Regions from separate parts of the Homo sapiens genome. Here regions 1 and 3 are each linked to region 2. The links are contacts of gene promoters, found by promoter capture Hi-C in human tissues and cell types (Jung and others, 2019). All regions are on one chromosome and are shown on one strand. Each heading gives the region's core, a stretch centred on a gene start or on the middle of the fragment in contact. The rest is flanking DNA. Distances are from core to core; before and after follow the strand shown. Region 1 holds the start of NDRG3 (NDRG family member 3). Region 2 overlaps DLGAP4 (DLG associated protein 4). Region 3 holds the start of DSN1 (DSN1 component of MIS12 kinetochore complex).

Region 1 (2,823 bases), core at 306-2,805, 260 kb after region 2:
ATTCTAATTGGGAAAATCAAGCAGGGAAGGCTTCACAGAGAAGGTGGTGATTTAGTGGAGCCTTTGAAATGTGGAGGAGGATTTGCTAAGGGAGAAAAACGACAGTTTGAGCTAGTTATTTTGGGGGAGAAACATTCACATATTTTTATAGCTGTTCATTTGGAACTTTAAATCATGGGAGGCTTCTTAAATTCAGCACCACTCTATCAATGTTCTCTTTCTCTTCTTGCTTTATCTTAAATACTGAAATGTTCAAGCCCAACCTTGGGGCAAAGGCAGAAAGCCTCGGACAGAAAGCCCCGGAATGAGGTGAGTGCTAGCCAAATCTGCTCTGTCACCTCCAAGTCCAGCCCGCCCAGCTAGCCCAGTCAGCCCAGTCCTGCTCTCTTGGCAGGAAAGGAAGGCTAATAATATCCCCTGAGGGCCAGGGTAAGGGGGGGGGGGGGCGCGGCGGGGGTGATCTGGATGCCAGCAGGCAAGGATCACTCTTGTTCTGTCAGTAAGCCACCAAAGGAAAGCTTCCCTGCTTCCTAATCCACGGGGCTCCTAGTCTACCTGTGATAGGGAGGCCAGCTCTGCAGGAAGAAAAAAAGGGCTTCATGACAAGGAAGGGGGAAGCATTTGGATTGGGAAGTGCAGAGGTGGTTATGCGAGGTTATCTTAATAAAATGCTTAGCAAGATCCCTGGCACACAGCGAGCGGTGGAAGAACGTTAGCTCTTATATTAATAACACTATTATTATTACAGTAACACCTCAATTGTACTCCGACAACAAGAAAATCTTTTTTGTGCAGCCTACTTTTACGACGTTCGAGAGCAACTTCAGAGATGACAAGTGATTTCAAAATTTTTTCAAAGGTACGAGATCAAATTCCAACCGCACTGGCCTGAGAGCCCGAGACCCTGAGTTGAGAGCTGACCCTGCCACTTGTCAGCTGCGTGACCTTGGGCATGGCACTTCACCTTTCCGTGCCTCAGTTTCCTCGGCTGTTAAGTGGGGCTAAGAAGCCTCTCCCCGGTAGGGTAGTCGTAGGGTCCCGTTAGAGGATGCCCTCTGCTGCTCTGGGGCCGGACGGGTGCAAGGGCTGCTCACGGCCCCTCTTCCAAGCATCTGGGCTCTTGGAGCGGGCGAGGTAGATGGATGAGCAACCCCAAGGCCCACCAAGCTCTGCCGCCTGCAGAGCCAGAGCGAGAGAAGGGTTCGCGCCTGCGGGGGGCGTCCCTGTGACCCAGGGTGTTGAGCCCGGAGGGAGGCTCTCTTGCTACCCACACGCTGTCGCCGGCGGGCTGGGCGCGGGGAGCGGCCGAGGAAAGCCGGGCTGACCTGGGTCCGGCGGGCGGGCGGGGCGGGGCAGAGGGCCCCGGGGGCACGGGGGAGGCAAGCAGCACGGGCCACCAGGGCCTCGCCGTGCCGCGGAGATGATGCGGGGAAGGAGCAGGGCAAAGGAGCGACGCCCCCGAATGCGGCGCCGCGCGCCCCCCGCGGGCCGGGCGGAGGCGCTCACTCACCTGAGGCGCGGGCACCCGCCGTCAGTGCAGCAGCAGCGGCGGCGGCGGCGGCGGCGGCGGCGGCGGCGGCGGCGGCGAGAGGGGCGGGGGAGGTGCTGCGGTCCGCGCAGGCGCGCCGAGGACGCCAGGGCGGCGCATGAGTGCTGTGCCCGTCCACCTCGGGAACTACCGAGAAGATGGTGGCTGAGCCAGGAGAGGCCGGCGGCGCCATCTTTGATGTAGTTTTTCTTGCTGCGGAGTTTCCTCAGAGAAGAATCTCAGATTTTGGAGGCGCTGGGCGGCAGGGCCATTGAGCTCTGCGTCTGGAGCGCTTCCCTCAGTTCCCTGAGTCGCATCCTTATGAAGCCCCTAAGAGCTCTTGCAGGGTATGGCATCCTCCTTTTAAGGTGACCTAGAGCCATACCCAAGGTCACAGGGCGCCTAGCACAGTGCTCGGCACGTGGAAAGAGCTTAGTAAATTTTTGGTGAATGAACATAGTAATTTAAGAACTAGAGTCCAAGACTCAGGGCTCCGAATTACCAGTCCTCCATTGTATCACCCCTATTACAACCGTCAGCCAAATCATCTACTTTCTTGAATGCAACATTAGAGATGGAATTTTTTTTCCCAGAATGATTGCAGATATTAAACTTAATGACCCAACAATTTAACACCAAAATGTACAGGACACACTCTTCCTCTATTTATTATCTATTATTTCTTTACCATTAAGTACCACTGACTAAAAGTTTTTTTGTTTTGTTTTGTTTTGTTTTTTGAGACGGAGTCTCACTCTGTCGCCAGGCTGGAGTGCACTAGCGCGATCTCGGCTCACTGCAACCTCTGCCTCCTGGGTTCAAGCGATTCTCCTGCCTCAGCCTCCCGAGTAGCTGGCACTGTAGGCGTGTGCCACCGGGCCTGGCTAATTTTTCTATTATTAGTAGAGACGGGTTTTCACCGTGTTGGCCAGGATGGTCTCGATCTCTTGACCTCGTCATCTGCCCGCCTCGGCCTCCCAAAGTGCTGGGATTACAGGTGTGTGAGCCACCACGCCCTTTTAACCCGAGCCAGTGTCGCCATCTCGGCTCAGGTTCCCAAGTCCCTCAGCCTCCCAAGTAGCTGGGACTAGAGGCGGGCGCCACCATGCCTGGGTAATTTTTGTATTTTTTTTTTTTTAGTAGAGATGGGGTTTCACCATGTTGGCCAAGCTGGTCTCAAACTCCTGACCTCAAGCAATCCGCCTGCTTCTGCGTCCCAAAGTGCTGGGATTACAGGTGTGAGCCACCACGCCCGGCCACTAAAAGCATATTCTTTTAATTAAGGCAAACTGAAC
Region 2 (2,796 bases), core at 229-2,728:
AGTCCTAGGGCAATAGACAGGGCAAGCCGCATTATTCTCATTTTATAGATGGGAGAAATTCAGACCCAGGAGCTTAAGTCATACACTGAATGAAGGCTGATTCCAGGGATTCCTAACCTACTGGCAGTTTCTGTCATAGCAGGTATTTTGAAGGGGGCAGGGTAGCAAGTATCAGCTGATCTCCTATTCTGAGGATGGATTTATCATCTCAGATGGGAGCTCTTATGCAGCTAGACTTCCCAGACGAAGGTGTTTTACTTCCAGACTTTGCTGTCTGAAGCCCTGGTGTTAGTCCTCACAAGATTTCCCGTGTGGCTAGGCTGTGTGAACATTCTCATTTTGTATTTCGCTGTTTGTTGATAACAATTCTCCGGAGGTAGGGGGGTAAAAAAGACCAGTGGCTCACGCCTGTAATCCCAGCACTTGGAAGACCAGGGTGAGATGATGGCTTGAGCCCAGGAGTTTGAGATCAGTCTGGGCAACATAGTGAGACCCTGTCTCTACAAAAAATTAAAATTAAAAAAATTAGTCAGGAGCAGTGGTACATGTCTGTAGTCCTAGCTACTCGGGAGGCTGACGTGGGAGGATCACTTGAGCCCAGGAAGTTGAAGCTACAGTGAACTATGATCACACCCTGTACTCCAGCCTAGGTGACAGAGTGAAACCCTGTCTCTAAACAAAAAGTTGGCTGGGCACGGTAACTCAACGCCTGTAATCCCAGCACTTCAGGAGGCCTAGGTGGAAAAATTGCTTAAGCCCAGGAGTTCTAGTACAGCATGGGCAACATAGTGAGACCTCATCTCTACAAAAACTAAAAAAATTAGCCAGGCATGGTGGTGCACCCCTGTGGTTCCAGTTACTTGGGAGGCTGAGGTGAGAGGATTGCTTGAGCCCGGGCTATCAAGGCTGCAGTGAGCTGTGATCATACCACTGCACTCCAGCCTGGATGACAGTGAGACTGTCTCAAAAAAAAAATGTTGAACTATGAATGTCATGCACACAAAGATGATGTGTGGTATCACGTCCAGAACTGGATGTAAAGTAGAAGGGCAAAGAGCGTCTCAGGCCCGGTAGGAATCTTAAAAGTCACACCCATGGGGACTTCAGTTTCCTCCCTGGCATCCATCCTGCCTGTGTCTAGCCTGGCTGGCCATTTTCTAGGTCCTTCTTCCATCTTTGGCCAGCTCTGCTTCTTAGAAAGCTCCTCTTTATAATTAGTCAAAATTTACTTCCATTAACAATCCCCACCTTCCTTTTCCCCTCTGATTGTAGTGTGACCCTCTGGGGCTACATGTGTATTTGACAGTCTTTTAGGTATTTGAGGACAGTAGCCATGCCCTTTTAAATTGTCTCTCTTCTCCAGGGTGACCATCCTAGCCTCTCCAAGCCATCCCTCACTTTACGCTAAGCACAACTTTTGGTGCATATGTGTCACACGCCCCGTTTGTGACAAGTCCGTCCCAGACACACTAATCACTTGTTGAATCAGTCCTGGGCTTTCTCATGCAACTCCATATGGCTGCCACAGTGCCCAGTCAGTGGAGGAGGCTTTTCATTGTCATCTCCACATTTCTATGGGTTTCTTGAGGACAAGGACTACTCATTCTGGGTCCCTAGTGGCTGGCACTGTGCATGGCTTTCCCTCTGTAAATAAGCATTTGCTGGAATGGGGTGGAGTTGAGACTTCTCCCTGTGTGGATCACCTTCTGTCTTCAGGTTCCAGTTTGACGATATCCCTTGCCTGGAATTACCTATGATACCCTCAGTATTATCCAGAGTTCAGTGGGGACTGCGCCCTCTCTGGTCCTGTGACTTTCCTGTAACAGTGCATCCTCAGTGTCTGTGGTCAGCTGACGTCACTAAGCCATTTTTCCACATATGCCGCTTTTCTTGTGTAATTGTCTTACTTGGGTTCCCAAACTCAGGGTCTTAATATAAGCTCTGAGGGAAAAAAAATCCCTCTGTTTTTCTGTGTCTCTGTCCCCCGGGTGTGCCTGGCACAGAGACAGGCAGCATTACCTCTGCTGACCTGAAGTGAACTCACGGTTTTCCCCATTCAGTCCTGCACTATTCGTCTCATCCCAACTCTAGGCTGCCGAGGGATCTTGGCTCCTACTCCTGTCACCTGATATGCCACCTGCCACTCCAGGCCCAGTGAATGAGCTTGTTAACACTGCCTTTCTATTCTGGGATTCGCTTGGTCATTCAGAATGGTGAAAGAGGCCAGCAATCGAGGTGCACAGGGCCTGGCAGCGTCTGGCTTTGCACACTGGACACACAGCCTATGACAGTTGGTGAAAGCCGGGCTTTTGTGACCTATCGCCAGGGTTTGAAGTCAGCCCTCCATTGACATCAGCCCTCCAGAAGTGAGGGTAGTTTTTTTGAGGCTCTTTCCAAGTAATACTTCCCAGGCTGGGCTCTGGGATCTTAGGGCTTTGGAAAGGTAGCAGCAAAGCTCGTATGATACAGCCAGTATTTGAAAAGCCACATTTTGCATTCTCTACCCTCAGTCCTTCACCAGACCAAGCGGGCTGCACATGTCAAGTTTTTGCACTGGGCTGGAGCCGAGGCAGCTTTGTAACTGGGCGGTTTCTCCTGCTTACTAGCACCTGCTTCTCGTGGGTTGTTTTTTTGTTTTTGTTTTTGTTTTTTTGAGACAGGGTCTAACTCTGTTGTCCAGGCTGGAGTGCAGTGGCATGATCTTGGTTCACTACAACCTCTGTCTCCCGGGTTCAAGTGATCCCCACACCTCAGCCTCCTGAGTAGCTGGGATTACTGGCATGAGATACCATGCCC
Region 3 (3,191 bases), core at 604-3,103, 290 kb after region 2:
TTGCTCTGTTGCCCAGGCTGGAGTACAGTAGCACAATCTTGGCTCACTGCAACCTCCTCCTCCCCAGTTCAGGTGATTCTCCTGCCTCAGCCTCCTGAGTAGCTGGGATTACAGGAATGCACCACCATACCTGGCTAATTTTTGCATTTTTAGTAGAGATGGGGTTTCCCCATGTTGGCCAGGCTGGTCTCAAACTCCTGGCCTCAAGTGATCCACCAGCCTAGGCCTCCCAAAGTCTGGGATTACAGGCGTGAGCCACCACGCCCAGCCTCACTGTTACTAGTTTAGTTCAGGTCTCATAATTTCTGGTCCCTCCCACTATCTTAATAGTCTCTCCACTAGTTTTTCTACCTCCAACGGCCCGTCTCCAGTCTATTCTTTGTTTTTGTTTTTTTTTGAGGTGGAATCTCACTCTGTCGCCAAGGCTGGAGTGCAGTGGCGCAGTCTCGGCTCACTGCAACTTTCACCTCCCAGGTTCAAGCAATTCTCCTGCCTCAGCTTCCTGAGTAGCTGGGATTACAGGTGCCTGCCACCACACCTGGCTAATTTTTGTATTTTTAGTAGCGATGGGGTTTCCCCATATTGGCCAGGCTGGTCTCGAACTCTTGACCTCAGGTGATCCGCCCGGCCTCAGCCTCCCAAAGTGCTGGGATTACAGGCCTGAGCCACCACACCCGGCCCAGTCTATTCTTCAGACAGTTGCCGGGACTTTTCCAAAGTGTAGTCAACACCTCAGGTAAACTAGTCCCAATTTACCCATTCCTGCTCTCTCCTCCCAGTCCTATTCCCTGTACTACTTCTGAATCTTTGCACATATCTGTCCTTCTACCTGTTAAACTTATTCATCCTTCCCAACCTGGCTCAAATATGAAGCTTTCACATCACTTATCTTTGGCAGAGTTGGTGGTTATGCCCCTTGGCCTTCGTAGCATTGGCTATAAAATCTGTTTACATGTCTGTCTCCCCAGCCAGGCTGTATTTGTATTCCTAGTGACTGTCAGGAACAACTGCCTGGAAGGCAGGGATGTCACCTAGGCATCTCTTCATCGTCCCCTCCCTCCCAGCAGAAATCTGTCTGTGGGGGGTGCTAAGTAAAAAGATATGAATATATGCAGAGGGACAAAAAGGAAAAGATAACAAGGAGGGCTCGGTCAAGGATCTGAATCCCCCACGGTCCTTATGACAATATCACACAAATCCAGGCTTGGATAATAACGACTGTATCACACAGATCCAGGCTTAGAAAAGCAACAACTGTCAACTGTTAAACGCTTATTCTGTGCTAGGACCTGTGCTATGTAAGCGCTTTACTTGCATCGTTATTCCACTTAATCCCTTCCACAACTCCGTAAGCACCATTAACTCCACTTTGCAGACAGGGGAACTGAGGTTCAGAGGGGCAAAAAGCCTGGCCCAAGCTTGTGACACAGCCAGCCTGGGGGCACAGGGGCAATTCGAACCCCAGCCCTCTACCCAGTCCTCACCCCTGTTTCTGGAGCCTAGACCCCTGGCACGGCAGATACGTCTCTAATGGGGTCGGTAAGGGGGACTGCCCTCGGGTTTCATTTCACCCGGGAGGAGGTCGCAGCGCCCTCGGGGACCCCCAGTGTCCACGGTCGGGGCCGGGGCTGCGGCGGGTCGAGCTGGGCCGACGGGTACGACGCCGAAGAGATTAGTGCGGCGGCGGGCGGGGCCACATCAGAGGACAAGTCTGTGACTTCCTGACGCCCGTCCAGTCCGGAACCTCCGTACCTGAAACACAAGGCCACGGGTCGCTCTCCACAGCCCCAGGTCACTCCTGGACGCCTTGCGCACCCGCAGCCGATACTCCCTGATCAGGGTGAAGCGGTCTCCACCTTCTACGTCACGGTCACCGCCTCCGAAACTCCCGCCAACCAAGGGCGCATGCGCGGCCGTCAGTTTCTCGGGCACGCGCGCGCAGAACGCCTGCCTCCGGCGATGCACATGCGTACACCGCCGCCCGACGCGCATGCGTACACCGCCGTCCAACGCTCCTGCCAGCTCCGCTCCTCTAGTCCAAGTCCTTTAGGTCCTGTCTGGCCACGTCACCACCTCCCCGCAACACCCCGCCCGGGAGTCCCTTTCCGGGACCCGCCACACTATCGTGTCCTTTTGCGCCCGACGGCCCCAGAGCCCATCTAAGATGGGGGAAACAGAGGCCCGGAGAGATTCTTGCCGGAGGAATACAGCGCCTCAAAGGGCATCTGATGCCCTGTCCCCGTCGCTAGGCTCTGGTTCCCACTCCCTTTATCTCCTTAACTCCCAAAATGTGGACCGTGACTCTCCCCAGGGTGGACTGGAGCTCTGAGCTCAGTTTGCCTCACAGTCTATCCCACTCCTGCTCTAGGACTTTTTCTCTCTCATTTCCAGGCCACTCCCTCAAACGGCTTGCTTTACTTGCTTGGTGGGTGGGGGCCTGCCCTCGGGTTTCATTTCACCCGGGAGGAGGTCGCAGCGCCCCCAAGTGGTCGCAGTGTCCTTAGTCGGGGTCGGGGGGTGCGGCAGGTCGGGCTGGTCCTTAGGGGTAGGACGGGGACAGGGCATCAGATGCCCTTTGAGGCGCTATATTCCCAGGCGCTGTTCCCTCTGCCTGGGAAGGCTTTCCCTGCTTTTCCTAGCTACATCCTCCAATTTTTTTGTATTTTGAGACGGAGTCTCGCTCTGTCGCCCAGGCTAGAGTGCAGTGGCGCGATCTCGGCTCCCGGCAACCTCCGCCTCCCGGGTTCGGGTTCAAGCGATTCTCCTGCCTCAGCCTCCCGAGTAGCTGGGATTACAGGCGCCCACCACCACGCCTGGCTAATTTTTGTATTTTTAGTAGAGACGGCCACTAAAAATGTTGGCCAGGCTGGTCGCGAACTCCTGACCTCAAGTGATCCACCCACTTCGGCCTCCCAAAGAGCTGGGATTACAGGCATGAGCCACTGCGCCCGGCCACATCCTCGAATTTTAAGCCTCAGCTAAGGAATGATTGATTTCTCTCCAAGCATTCTCTCTGGCCTTAGGCTGAAAACCAACTGTCCTTTCTGTGCTCCCAGGAGCCCAATCTGTTCCTGCTCCACTATCCCATGCTGGTCTAGGAGGCTCCAGAGAGCGGGCTGCTTCCTCAGCACCCAGCACGACGCCACCAAAATGTCCCCTTGGATGTGCACAGTCCTTTCTTTCACAGAAAA

The links. Contacts are between HindIII fragments. The study calls those that stand out against the background at their distance.
Region 1: a contact is called between the fragment with the promoter of NDRG3 here and a fragment that was not itself captured in region 2, in 3 of the 25 tissues and cell types used here (H1 embryonic stem cells, dorsolateral prefrontal cortex and lymphoblastoid cells).
Region 3: the fragment with the promoter of DSN1 here is called in contact with a fragment that was not itself captured in region 2 in 3 of the 25 tissues and cell types used here (adrenal gland, heart left ventricle and lymphoblastoid cells).

Annotation. Positions count from the first base shown.
Region 1 is chr20:36,744,535-36,747,357 of GRCh38, forward strand. NDRG3 (NDRG family member 3) reads right to left here and starts at 1,556. Exons shown (of 16, transcript NM_032013.4): 1 at 1,511-1,556. RefSeq lists enhancers at 1,019-1,985, 1,710-1,809 and silencers at 1,180-1,369, 1,400-1,599. The HindIII fragment of the contact is 7,851 bases long and covers 1-2,823 here.
Region 2 is chr20:36,480,037-36,482,832 of GRCh38, forward strand. The region is part of intron 7 of DLGAP4 (DLG associated protein 4); the gene reads left to right. Among named protein-coding and RNA genes, the nearest start is that of MYL9, 60 kb to the right of the region's middle. The HindIII fragment of the contact is 6,952 bases long and covers 1-2,796 here.
Region 3 is chr20:36,771,910-36,775,100 of GRCh38, forward strand. DSN1 (DSN1 component of MIS12 kinetochore complex) reads right to left here and starts at 1,854. Exons shown (of 11, transcript NM_001145315.2): 1 at 1,753-1,854. RefSeq lists enhancers at 1,613-2,158, 1,780-1,839, 1,970-2,109, 2,120-2,199, 2,159-2,705. The HindIII fragment of the contact is 22,977 bases long and covers 1,146-3,191 here.